Regions from separate parts of the Homo sapiens genome. Here region 2 is linked to region 1. Evidence: promoter capture Hi-C in 16 types of primary human blood cells and fetal thymus (Javierre and others, 2016). All regions are on one chromosome and are shown on one strand. Each heading gives the region's core, a stretch centred on a gene start or on the middle of the fragment in contact. The rest is flanking DNA. Distances are from core to core; before and after follow the strand shown.

Region 1 (6,619 bases), core at 3,313-5,812:
AGCAGCCTCAGTGATAGGGTTTGGCTGTGTCCCCACCCAAATCTCATCTTGAATTGTAGCTCCCATAATTCCCATGTGTTGTGGGAGGAATCATGGGGGTGGGTCTTTCCCATGCTGTTCTCGTGATAGTGAATAAGTCTCACGAGATCTGATGGTTTTATAAATGGGAGTTCCCCTGCACACTCTCTCTTTCCTGCTGTCATGTAAGACGTGTCTTTCCTTCTCCTTGCTTTTCACCATGATTGTGAGGCCTCCCCAGCCATGTGGAACTGTGAGTCAATTAAACCTCTTTCCTTTATAAATTACCCAGTCTAAGGTATGTCTTTACTAGCAGCATGGGAACAGACTGATACACTCAATATGCCCCTTTCTCCAACAAGCTATCCCAAACCATCTGTAGGAAGGGCCTTGGGTGGTTTTTTAGTTGTTTCTGTTTGTTTTTAATTTCCAACTTACTGTGGAATGATACTTTGTAAAATTCAATAAAAAATAAATTACTAGAGCAATACAATTAACAAAGACATACCAAATACAATCAGGACAAAAATACAAGCTCCCTTAAAGAGGCCACAGAAATATTCTGAAGACCATCCCACTTCTCTTACAGATGGGGAACTAAGGGACCTGCCCCCATTGCATAGCTGGTCAGAGGCAGCTCCTCTGGCTGAAGCAAGCTGGGTGCTTTGGCCTAAGCCCTAGCCCTGACCCCAGCCCCAGATCCAGCCCCAGCCCCTGCCCCGGCTCCAGCCCCAGCCCCAGCCCCAGCCCCAGCTCCAGGCCTGGCCAAGTTCTCCTTCTCATCCTTCTCGGAAGACGAGGGGGAGGTGAATGAGGCATTGGCCTCAGGTGCAAAATTTAAGGGGGTGCCAAAAACTCAGTCACCAAGATAAAGAATATGTAATGCAATATATTTCTAAACATTAGAATTTTACACAAAGACAGGATCAGTAACAGTGCTGAGCCGAGCAATATTGGCACCGGAGGCAAAAGGCAGAATCAGTGACATTGTCAGAGCCTTACTTAAAGTTTTGGCCTTTTGTTCAGCACAGATTTTACTGCATTAATGTTGAGAAGGAGGTCATAGGTAGGGCATAGAGAAAGAGTGAATGTCAGGGGTCATTATATGAACAACGTCGCGTGGGCCCGCGACATTTAGCTCCTGGCTAAAATAACTGTGTGCACACCAACGGGAGGGGAAGACGGGGGTTTTCAGAAAACACCTCAAATCAAAACAATTACTGTGTTCCTTCCACTCTGAGACTCCACCAGTCAGAAGATATGTGATCAATTTGTTAATGTATCTCTAGAAGGAAAAAAATGGCAGGTAAACTTCTTCTGACATCATCTATAAGCAACCCCCATAATTCAGAAATATTCATATATAGAACCCTGAAGGGAAAAATCCCAAATTGTTTTTTCCTCTGCTCTCACGCTACGACAATCATCAACGCGGAAGGTTCGTGTCACCATATGTGTGTGTTGGGGGTTCTCCCCACTGCCAAGCAAGCAATCAGTTCCGCAGGAGACACCAGGGTGTCTTCCAACTCATTTCTGACACTGTCTACCTGGAGATAGTGGCAGATCCCACAGGTTGAGGGCTCAATCCCCAAGGCACCCCACCCCCATCCCACTTCGCACAGCAGTTGCAAGTCCAGGCATCCGGAGCTTCTGACCGACAGGCTGGGCTCTCAATTGGGGTTCCCACAACCCCCTCTCAGGTTCATTAATTTGCTAGAGTGGAACACAGAACTCAGGGAAATGTACATTTACTGGTTTATTATAACGCATATTACCAAGAACACAGATGATGGGATGTACAGGGAGAACAGGCACGGAGTTTCCATGCCCTTCCCAGGCACCCCGTCTTCCAGCAGCCTCCACATGTCCAGGGATCCAGAAGCCCCCAAACCCAGACCTCTTGGGCTTCTTAAGGAGACTTCATTGGACAGACACGATTGACGACCATGCAGAAATGTGATCGAACAAAAAGGTATGATCCAATAGTGACTGAGTAAGTGTGGACACCCAAACAAGTCCTGCCTATTCCGACCGTTATTGGCCTTTCCGTGCAGGATTTCTTCCTCTCGGGAATGGGGCAGGACCCCTTCTGAATAGAGGGTCTTAAGTCCCACAATCAGAAAGATGAGGGAGGATTAGAGTCCTGCCTTGGGCTGGTGAGGTGGTGAAGGAGGGCAGGGGAAGTTCAGAGGAGATTGTTTCCTGGGGTGTCTGAGGCCTAAAGCGCCCCAACATTATAACAAGAGACTGTGATGAGGGCGACGAGAGTGCTAAGCCAGGAACCCTGGACAAAACCCAGAATTTATACCTCGTCATATCACAAGGACCAAAAAAATTAAAAATTAAAAAAAGGCTCTTAAAATGCAGGCAATACAGTAAAATGTTTTAATGTAGGAAGCACTAAAGTCTTTGTTCCAACAAAATTAACTCAGAGAACAAATTATTTTACATATGTATACAGATCAATCAACAAAAGTACACATTATAACAATTGCTAAACACTGTCCATAAAGAAAACATTTCAAATGAGAAGCGCCATCGCGGTTTTCTCCTTCTGGGTCACCCAGTGGAATGAGGGCCCTCGCCAGGGGCTCTTCCCAGACGTCTCTTCACACCAACCGGCTTCCTTCTGATGGCCCCATTTTCCTTTAAAACCAGTTCTCATCAAATAGGGTGTTTTATGCACCCTGGCAAATGATCATTTTGACAAGGATTAAAACTGTAAGCTAAACAGATGACACAAATGACAATTGGGAATAATTTTTAGTGGGGACAGAGGCTAAATACTACCCCCTCCCCTTTTCTACTTCTAACCAATATCTTGAGCATTCAGTGGGACAATACAGTCTTGCTGGGTCTCTTGAAATCCTCTAGCAAGAAGCCAGCCAGGAGAAGACCCAGAAGTCCCACACCTGTGGGGCCAGGATGGCTGCTTGGTTGCTAAACCCAGACAGGGTCCTTCCAGTGCATCTGCCCCTGTCAGGCTCTGTCTCGAGACTGGGGATCTTCCAGGCTGGCTTCATTCTGGACCAGAGAGCAGAGGAGAAGGAGAAAGAATATAAACCCACCCCTATGAGCCAGGGAACCACCCAAGCTGTAAGGATTTTGTGCAAGCTGCTGGAACTCGGGTTGGAAAAGCCACCCGGCAAGCAGCTGAAAGGAAGGATGCTTCTCCCTGCGTGGGCGCACGCCTGCTTCCTAAGAGATGATCCTTTGGGTGGGCTGATCATGCCTCCTCCTCTGGGGAGGGAGTCCTGCGAAAGCACGCACCTCAAAAGGAGTAAAGGCCCTATGGTGTCCCCAAAGCGACCCCTGTCGCGTTCTTTCTGCGGGTGGCCTCCCTGCATTACTGATTACTCGGAGCGGCTGAGCTGACGTCAGCATTCTGGGAGCGCCAATGACCTTTGGGGTCATCACATCCTCAGAAACTAGAGCAGGAGGGGAAGCGACCCCCAAGCCAGCACTCCCCCTACTTTCCACCAGGGAGCCGAGGTCGCGCCATCCTGGGGCGCATCTGGGGGTGGGGGACACACCAGCCCCCTCCCCCAACCCCTCTAGGGCCCTCGGCAGCAGGCGGTACTGGATGCCCACCCGGGGCTCTAAAGGACCTGGGCCGCACCGGGAACCCTCGCCCGGGTCTTCGAGCCCTCCCCTTCTCCCAATTCTTTCCGCAGTCTCAGGAGCCCCACGTTTCCCGCGGCGTGGGGACACGCACTTACCGCGGATCCACTGCGCAAACCTTGATGAACCTGAAAAAAGCAGGGTGGGGTGGGGTGGGGTGAGGGTGGGGGTGGCTAGACCCTGCTCGCACCCAGCGCCACGCACCGCTCTCTGGGCGGGTTCGAGTGCGCGCGCCGGGCGGGGCGGGACCCGGGGGCTGCGGTGTTTCGAGAAGCACGTGCTACTTCGCGCGCAGCGCCCCCGGAGACTGTGGGCTTCCTCGCTGCCTGGTCTACGGCAGGGCGGGCGCGGGGGCGTGTTTCAAAGGGTAGGGCACACAGTGAGACGCCGGGAGGCGGGATGGATCCGAAACCAGCTCGCAGCGAGTCCCAAGCGGCTGCGGCCGCCGCAGGGGTCTGGGCGCGGCGACGAGGGCGGCGTGGGGCGACGGGGAGCGGGACGGTGGCGCTGCACGCCGCGCACTTCCTGTTCAACACGCGCCGCCTCCCACCACCCGCGCTCCCCGAGCTTGCGTCGGTGCCAGGCCCGGCCCCTCACTGTCCCCTTGCGGTCCCCTGGGGCCGCGGCGCGGCGGGGGGCGAGGAGCGGGCGCCCTGCCCTTCTTGGCCCGCTGGACTCCGGGCGCCCCCTCCGGCGCGCAGGGCCGCGAGCGCCGCCGCCAGAACTTCTGCCAGCGGCCGCCCGTAGCCTAATTGCGCAGAGGGCTCGCCTTGCACCTCCTCTTCCCCCGCCGCCCTCCCTCTCGCCCAGAAAGGAGGACGGACCCAGCTGCAGGCTCCGAGCTGGTTTATTCTGCGGCCGAGGATTACATTTATGCACGAACGGGCTTACTGGTTCCAGATTCCCCACTTGGGCACAGGCATAGGAGGCTTGTTTTCCAAATTGCTGGTTTTAATTGCACCTGCCTTTCAGATTACCTCTGGGAATCTGTGGGAGGAGCCGAGAGGGTGGAAAATGTTTCTTAGCTTTGCAAAAGGAAGAAAACTTTGTCACCCAGCGGGAGACCTCAGCCACGAGTAACCCGGGGAGACACCAGAACCGGGACGGGCTTTGACTGATTTGCCTACGAGGGTTCCGTAGGAAAGGACGCTTGAATTCGGCGCTTCGGCGGCGGCGGCGGCCGCGCGAGTTCCCTGCTCACCCTCCCTCTCCGCGGAAGTCCCCACGAGGTGGCTTCAGGGTGTAACAGAGCGCGCGGCTCCAGTCCGAAGGCAGCGGCCGGGGGAGGGAAGGAGGGGACCGAACCCCCGAGGAGTTTCGCAGAATCAACTTCTGGTTAGAGTTATGGGAAGCGCGGTTATGGACACCAAGAAGAAAAAAGATGTTTCCAGCCCCGGCGGGAGCGGCGGCAAGAAAAATGCCAGCCAGAAGAGGCGTTCGCTGCGCGTGCACATTCCGGTGAGTCCCAGCACTCGGTCCCCTGCTCCCCAGCCCTCCTGTCGCTCCCGTCCCCGGCGCCGAAGCGGTTAACGCTGGACGCCCCGCGCGCGCCGTGCGTGCCCCTCCTGTCACTTCGGGCGGCTTGGGGAAAGGGTAGAGGGACAGGGCCCGAGCTGGGCTGGCGGAGCCGGGGCTCAATCTCTCTCTCTGCCCGCGTGCAGCCAGGGCTGGGGCTCCGCCTGGGGCGGGGGCTGGGCGGCTGCAGACTAGAGGGGGCGCCGGGCGCGGCGGGTGGGCGGCTGGGCGTAGCCCGGTATCCAGCCGGGTGCGGGTGCGGGGGGCGGTGCGTTGTGTTGTTTTGCTGAAAAGGGACGGTGTGGACTGCGCTCCGGGGAGGTGGAGCCCGCGCTCGGCTGCTGGAGACGGAGAGAGGGGAGGGGAGGGAGGAGAGGGGAGGGGCGGTGGGTGGGGAAAGCAGCGGGGCGGGGGTTGGGGGGAGCTGTGTAGCTGCGTCTTCCAATGCACCCCCTCCGCTCCAGTTTCTCTCCGGGCGTTTCTGGGCCTGGAGCGGGGGTCTCCTCTGCCGCCGTTCCCTTCCCCCGCCCCGGGAGTGTACTTTGGGTCTCTGTGGTATTTGGGGGCTCGGAGCTCCCTAATCCGTGCAGGCTGCATTGAACTTCAGCCCCGTCCGCGCCAGCCGCCCGGGAGGACATTGGCGACTCGGATCTGCCTGCGGCTTCACTTTGTCCAGCCAGAGGGGCGGCGGGCCGCGTAGTGGTTCTCTTTTCGGAAGGCGCCCCGGTAGCCCGCGGCCACTGTTCCTCGCCTCCACGTAGCGGGGTAGGGCGGTGGGAGGTGTGGCCCACTGGGTCACACCCTCCGCCTCAGCCAACCAAGTAAATGTTTGTGTACACACACACACACACACACACACACACACACACACACACACACACACACACCAGAGTGCTCCGTAGAGAAAGTTATTTTGCTCTCCCGGGGCAGGGTGGGAGTGCGCAGTGAATGGGCTGTCCGGACCCCTCATTAAAGCTAATCCTTCCCGACAGGGTCAGGCGCAGCTGGCATGGCCGAGGCAGGCCACTCACTTCCCACTGTGAATCCCAGGGCGCACTGCCCCGTGTTTGCTGAGCCACCCTTCTTTTAGACGCCCCGCTAAGGTCCTCCTGTGTAAACTCCGGCCCACACGTGCCTAACGCTTGGGTGAAGAGGGTGGAGTCCAGGGGCGGGTCTCCAGACACCTGATGCCAAGTAGCCCCACAGGGGCCCTGGGCCAGCCCTCCCTGGCTGGAAAGCTCTGGGGCTGGAAACTTGGACCCCTGGCTGCTGTGTGGCCCCCACGGTGGTGACTCGATTATGCAGGAATAAGTGTTCTATTTGAAAATGAAACATTCTTGTTTACATCTCTCATGTAAGACATTTAAAACCATGTTCGTGAGTTAAAAGTTAGATGTTGCTGCCACAAACCTCTTAAACAGTGATCACTTGAGCTAACCGTGTAACTACTGTTTCTCCCATTTGT
Region 2 (6,884 bases), core at 1,506-4,005, 260 kb before region 1:
TAACAAACAGTGTTGCTATATCTTGTACAAATATCACAATGAATTAATAGTTTCACTCCTATGGGGTATATTCCCAAACGTGAGGTTTCTGTGTAAAAGCGTGTGTACTTTTCATTTAAATAGATATTGCCAGTTTTCTAAAAAGTCTCTTACTGCACACTTCTTCCTGCAGCATGTGAGACTGTTTTCTTGTTTCCCATTTGTAGCTGGTGTTACTATTTTTTTGTTTAGTTGGTCTGATAAATATAGACTGATGTTACCTTAATTGAATAGGCAGCTTTTCATGTCCGCCATTTGGATTTGCTTTCATAGGAATTGCGTATTCATATCCTTTGTCCATTTTTCAATTTTTAGCAGTTTACACTATTCAGAATTTTCCCCTACAAAATATCCTTTGCCTACCAGCAAGTGTGACATCTTTTTTCTTGTAAAAGTTACTGTTTATATAAACAAACATACATAATTTTCTGTTGCATCTAGTCTTGGTCAAGACCCTAGATTATATACGGATTCTAGAGGTTTTCTTGCATAACATTTTTAAAATACAATTTCGCTTTCTTCCATTGGATAACCAGTTGTTGAAGGGCCATTTAGAAGTAACCCACTCATTTTTAACTGATTTTCTTTCTTCTTCTTTGAGACAGGGTCTCACTGTGTCGCCCAGGCTGGAGTGCGGTGGCACAATCTCAGCTCACTGCAGCTTCGATCTCCTGGGCTCAAGCGATCCTCTTACCTCAGCCTCCTGAGTAGCCAGGGCTACAGGCGCATGCCACAATACTTGGCTAATTTTTAAAAATATTTATTTAGAGATGAGGTTTTGCCATGTTGTCCAGGCTGGTCTTGAACTTCTGAACTCAAGCAATTCACCTGCCTCGGCCTCCCAAAGTGCTGGGATTACAGGCATGAGCCCCCGTGGCTGGCATGAATTTTTTTTTTTTTTTTTTTTGAGACAGAGTCTTCCTCTGTCACCCAGGCTGGAGTGCAGTGGCACGATCTCGGCTCACTGCAACCTCTGCCTCCCAGGTTCAAGCGATTCTTCTGCCTCAGCCTCCCAAGTAACTGGGACTACAGGTGTGTACTACCATGCCCGGCTAATTTTTTTTTTTTTTTTAAGTAGAGATGGGATTTCACCATATTGGCCAGGCTGGTCCTCAAACTCCTGACCTTGTGACCCGCCCACCTCTGCCTCCCAAAGTGCTGGTATTACAGGTGTGAGCCACCGCACCTGGCCTTTTTCTTCTAACCCCACGAAATCTTGACTATAAACTGAATTTTAATACCAGTTACTACTGTACGTTAGATTTTCATACATGCAGGGATCTATTTCTCTTTTCTGAGATGGAGTCTCACTCTGTCACCCAGACTGGAGTGCAGTGGTGCCATCTTGGCTCCCAGATTAAAGCGATTCTCATGCCTCAGCCTCTGGAGTCTCACTCTGTTGCCCAGGCTGGAGTGCAGTGGCATGATCTCAGCTCACTGCAACCTCTGCCTCTGGGGCTCAAGCAATTCTCTTGGCTCAGCCTCCCTAGTAGCTGGAATTACAGGCACACGCCACCATGCCCAGCTAATTTTTGTATTTTTAGTAGAGACGGGGTTTCACCATGTTGGCCAGGCTGGTCTTGAACTCCTGACCTCAAGGGATCTGCCTGCCTTGGCTTCCCAAAGTGGTGGGATTATAGGCATGAGTCACCACGCCTGGCCCATTTGGAATCTCTTCATTTCCACTGATCTTGTTTATTCTTAAACCACACTCTATTGATCTCCATACATACTTTTTGTGTGTTCTGGTTCATTCACTTGTGAGTTGTATCTGGAGTAGAACAGATAATCAAAGATGCTTGTTCAGAGGATAAATCAGTTCACATACTAAAGTCTCTCACATGGCCCTTCCCACCATGTGCTCCCGGATGTGCTTCATGAGGATGCAGCTGGGGCAGCACATGGTCCTCCTAGTAATTCCGACTAGAATGCAGTTGATTTCTGCATTCTAGAATTCAGTTCAATTCTAGAATTGCATTCTAGTCTAGTACTTCTGATTCAGTTGCATCTAGTCTAGTACTTTTGCATTCAGTTGCCTTCTAGTCAGAATTAAGTGCAAAAACCCAAAATTGGGACAAGAAAATACAACTATTTATGGCAAAGACCCATATTTTGTTAGTATGTTTCTCTACAAGTTGTGCTACCAACCTGAATAGTGCACCTGGCAGGCCACCAGCACGGGAGTACAAGCTGCGCAGTGAGAGCTGCTTCCATTTCAGCCCGTTCAAACTTCTTTCCCAGCCTCAGAATTTTGTATTAGTGAAAAATTTACCTTCCCCAAGAGCTTCATTTGTTTCCAACATTCCTGATATTTACAGCAGAGTGACGTTTCCTGTGTCTGCTCTTTGCCCTGGCTGCTGGGAAACTCAGAGCCAAGTCTGAACCCTGTTTACAGTATCAGTGATTGGTTATAGTTAGCCTGATTTCTATGTTATTGAATTTATTATGTCTTTTTTGAAATAGTATTGGGGTAAAATAAACACCACAAGTCAATAAGCTTATTTAGTTGGTGGGAACTCAGCTATCTCATCTGGAAGGTTAGATAGCCTAATACATAAGACAGCCAAGCCACAGTACTACTTTATACATAGACTCTAAGAATTTAGTGCTAAAAAAGATGTAGGAATAAGCTAGTGATGGCATAGTTTTAAGTAGTAAAAATGTCCAATTTTTAAAATTTCAGAAAATAGCATATTCAAAAATGATTTGAGTTCAAGTGAAACTTAAGTATGGCTTCTAATAAGACCCGAGGGTGAAACCTTTGTATGAAAAACAGAAAAAAGACTTGTTGTCACATAAATTGGAAGTATGTACACACTTTTTTTTAGGGGCTGGGCCTGTATGCTGCTCGAGACATTGAGAAACACACCATGGTCATTGAGTACATCGGGACTATCATTCGAAACGAAGTAGCCAACAGGAAAGAGAAGCTTTATGAGTCTCAGGTAGGTGTCTGGTCCCCGAGATTGTATACACAGCACCATCATCCTCTCCCTTTCTCCGTGCCAGCCAGACACCCTGGAAGGCAGAATGAAATCTGTCATGCTGCATTCAGCTTTAAACAAAAGCCATATCTGTATATTAGTGTATTTTTATCAGTTGTATCTCTTTCAATTGGTGTTACAGTTTACTTTGATAGACAACTGTAAATTAATGAGCCTGGCTTCACACACAACCTACTGATTCCATGCTTTCCATTCGTGCCATGTAAATGTCATCTGTGCCTAATAGAATATCCACAGTAAGGATGATCAGGCTGCCGTTCCGTTCAGTTTCGACTGAGTCCTCCTGGTGTGGATAGGAACACAGAGGGGAGTTTCAGGTCGACATTGATGACTTACTGACTGACTTTTCCCTCAGAACCGTGGTGTGTACATGTTCCGCATGGATAACGACCATGTGATTGACGCGACGCTCACAGGAGGGCCCGCAAGGTGAGACAGCGAGGAACCTGACGGGGAGTGCTTTTGCTTGTGGGGCCAGTGCTGGTGGAGAGAACACTGAAGCCAAGGGAAAGGCTCTCACGGCAGCCTGGCGGTGACTAAACATTCAGAGCAAATGAGTTGAGAATTTTTATTTAAATGTTATATTTGTGCTTCTAACAATGGGCAAATAGAAATTTAATTAGCAAAAACTGCTTTATCAATAAATGGGAAGTTTTTAAAGCTGCTTCTAGCTGTTTTACAATACAGTTTTCTGACATGGTGGCTTGCAGGTATATCAACCATTCGTGTGCACCTAATTGTGTGGCTGAAGTGGTGACTTTTGAGAGAGGACACAAAATTATCATCAGCTCCAGTCGGAGAATCCAGAAAGGAGAAGAGGTAAGAGTGTGAGAGATTGCATCTGCCATGTTGTTCAGATCCTGGGCGAATAGTTCCCTCCTCACACAGGTCACTTACTCACTTGTTTCCCAATTCTTTGTTGTGATAAAAACTCTGTCCATAATAGGCCAGATGTTCCCACCCTGCAGTATCTCACCCTTCAGGCACTCCAGTTCACCTTCCTCCACATGGCAGCTCTGTGAGCATTTGCTGTCACCTCTCCCTTCCCTTCTGTGCCACGGGTTCAGCATCCCCATGGCACCCAGGTGGTATCATTTCTGTGTGCCATAGGATCCTTCTTTATCCCCTTAACCTGGACACAGTTTGGCAGTGTCCCCTCTGAAGAGCATCCCCGTCCTTCTCCAAGGGGGCCGTGGCTCCTGAGATGGCACTGTTGGGCTGTGGGCGGCAAATCTGGGCCGCCGTGCTGCTGAGGATTGTGTGCTCACGCTGGCGATCAGTGTGTGCTTAACCAAGTGCCCACATCGCCACATTCTTCAGCAGTTCAGGTGTGGGTTGTTGTCTTCAAAATGCCGAGTGCCAAGCTTGCTGTTTGTCTCCGTGCTCTCAGAGGTGACTCTGGTCCGGCGGCTCACCCATTGGGATTATTTTTGGCCTTAATTGCTGCATTTGCTTCCCACCTTGGTCTTTCCCACTGTGATTCAGGTACCTTGGTTCTGGAATTGGCATTTCCTGGAAAGCTGTCACTGAGCAGCAGGCTTGGTTTCTGTAGGAAACGTCCCGCATTTGGGGAGTGAGGCACCTGAGTGACTTGACTTTGTTGGTGCTCCTCTCCCTTCGTGAACATAGCCATGGGATTCGTGGGATTCTATCTGTATTTTGGGTCTTTGTGGAATCTCCTTTCTTAGTCAAGAATAAGGATCCGACTAGACCCAAGGCCCGTTATACATCTCAAAGTAACGTGTAAATAAGACAGTGTGTGGGAGCCCTGGCACAGTGCCAGTAACCAATGGCTACCATGGTGGTCAGAAGAGACTCAGCCCAGGGCCACCTGCCTCCTTCCTACTTGAGTATTCTTGAGTAAATAGTTTAATATGAGCCCCTATTTTATCTTCTGCAAGATAGAGAAAATGACTTCCTTACCAGGCTCTTGGAAGGACTCAGCAGATACCTGAAAGAAAGCAGTGGAATCATTGCCAAGAACAGCTGCTCAATAAACACTGGTTTCCTTCCTTTCTGTGTAGAAGGTCTTTCCAGCTAGCGTCTAGAATCATTTCACTCAGAAGAGACCTAGAAATTCCTGGGCCTCCCCTTCATTTTGCAGCATCGGCTCTCTCTGGGGTGGTGGGGGTTGCAGGGCCGCGCACTGAGGCTTGTACCGTGGGACTCACGCAGACTCCCACCTACCTTGATTGGTCTGAGATGTTAATTTGGTGACCTCTAAATAGAAAGACATCCTTTCAGTCTTGAGTGAGGAAAAATGAAGGAGGGAAAACAGAGTTAGCTGGCAGTTCATCTCACCCAGAATTGCATGCCCCATTCAGTAAATCAGGGGAGGTGAAAGGCTTCTGGGTTTTAGGGAGAGGGCTAGGAAAGCAGTTGCCCTTCCAGTCCCCTCCATCCACTTGCAGGGACAGCATTATGAGAAGTCACAGAAATACAGCTTTCTCTGGTCAGGCTCCCGTTCTCAGATCTCGCTGTTTAAAAATACTGCCTCCCTCATTTCCTCTGTGCAAGCACAATGCCTCTTTTCAGGGTTCCCCCAGGGTCCCATGGAACCTCAATAAATCAGGTCTTCCTTAATTTACGTCTGTTTCGTTTGCTGGTTTTAAAATGCAAGGGAGATGGAGGCAGAAACGCTATTGCCTTCCTTGCTGTCCTTTCTTACCCTGTGTCTTTGCCGTGGGCAGCTCTGCTATGACTATAAGTTTGACTTTGAAGATGACCAGCACAAGATTCCGTGTCACTGTGGAGCTGTGAACTGCCGGAAGTGGATGAACTGAAATGCATTCCTTGCTAGCTCAGCGGGCGGCTTGTCCCTAGGAAGAGGCGATTCAACACACCATTGGAATTTTGCAGACAGAAAGAGATTTTTGTTTTCTGTTTTATGACTTTTTGAAAAAGCTTCTGGGAGTTCTGATTTCCTCAGTCCTTTAGGTTAAAGCAGCGCCAGGAGGAAGCTGACAGAAGCAGCGTTCCTGAAGTGGCCGAGGTTAAACGGAATCACAGAATGGTCCAGCACTTTTGCTTTTTTTTCTTTTCCTTTTCTTTTTTTTTTGTTTGTTTTTTGTTTTGTTTTTCCCTTGTGGGTGGGTTTCATTGTTTTGGTTTTCTAGTCTCACTAAGGAGAAACTTTTACTGGGGCAAAGAGCCGATGGCTGCCCTGCCCCGGGCAGGGGCCTTCCTATGAATGTAAGACTGAAATCACCAGCGAGGGGGACAGAGAGTGCTGGCCACGGCCTTATTAAAAAGGGGCAGGCCCTCTAACTTCAAAATGTTTTTAAATAAAGTAGACACCACTGAACAAGGAATGTACTGAAATGACTTCCTTAGGGATAGAGCTAAGGGATAATAACTTGCACTAAATACATTTAAATACTTGATTCCATGAGTCAGTTTATTGTAGTTTTTGATTTCTGTAAAATAAGAGAAACTTTTGTATTTATTATTGAATAAGTGAATGAAGCTATTTTTAAATAAAGTTAGAAGAAAGCCAAGCTGCTGCTGTTACCTGCAGAACTAACAAACCCTGTTACTTTGTACAGATATGTAAATATTTTGAGAAAAAATACAGTATAAAAATAGTTATTGACCAAATGCTACCAGGCTCTGCAGCAGCTCGGGGGCTTATAAAATGTTCATAGGGATGTTACAATATAATTTTGTGTTATAAAATATGCCATTATAATTATGTAATAACCAAAATTTCAACCTAGAGTGTTGGGGGTTTTTTGGAAACCGCAGTCTATTAGTACTCAATGGTTTTATACACCTTACTTCTGACAGAGCGGGGCGTATGCTACGACTACAACTTTTATAGCTGTTTTGGTAATTTAAACT

Evidence for each region. The method cuts DNA at HindIII sites, captures the fragments that hold promoters and counts their contacts. A CHiCAGO score of 5 or more calls a contact.
Region 2: a fragment that was not itself captured here is called in contact with the fragment with the promoter of PRKAG2-AS1 in region 1 in 1 of 17 cell types (naive CD8 T cells); the score reaches 5.1 in naive CD8 T cells.

The regions. Positions count from the first base shown.
Region 1 is chr7:151,874,985-151,881,603 of GRCh38, reverse strand. PRKAG2-AS1 (PRKAG2 antisense RNA 1) reads right to left here and starts at 4,562. Exons shown (of 3, transcript NR_038926.1): 1 at 4,464-4,562; 2 at 3,738-3,767; 3 at 2,381-3,042. It overlaps PRKAG2 (protein kinase AMP-activated non-catalytic subunit gamma 2), which reads left to right and starts at 4,489. Exons shown (of 16, transcript NM_016203.4): 1 at 4,489-5,097. The coding sequence starts at 4,984. RefSeq lists silencers at 3,995-4,424, 5,187-5,236, 5,297-5,436 and an enhancer at 5,627-5,746. The HindIII fragment of the contact is 12,278 bases long and covers 1-6,619 here.
Region 2 is chr7:152,135,775-152,142,658 of GRCh38, reverse strand. It overlaps KMT2C (lysine methyltransferase 2C), which reads left to right. Exons shown (of 59, transcript NM_170606.3): 56 at 2,868-2,984; 57 at 3,400-3,473; 58 at 3,755-3,863; 59 at 5,735-6,884. The coding sequence ends at 5,827. Among named protein-coding and RNA genes, the nearest start is that of GALNT11, 110 kb to the right of the region's middle. The HindIII fragment of the contact is 433 bases long and covers 2,539-2,971 here.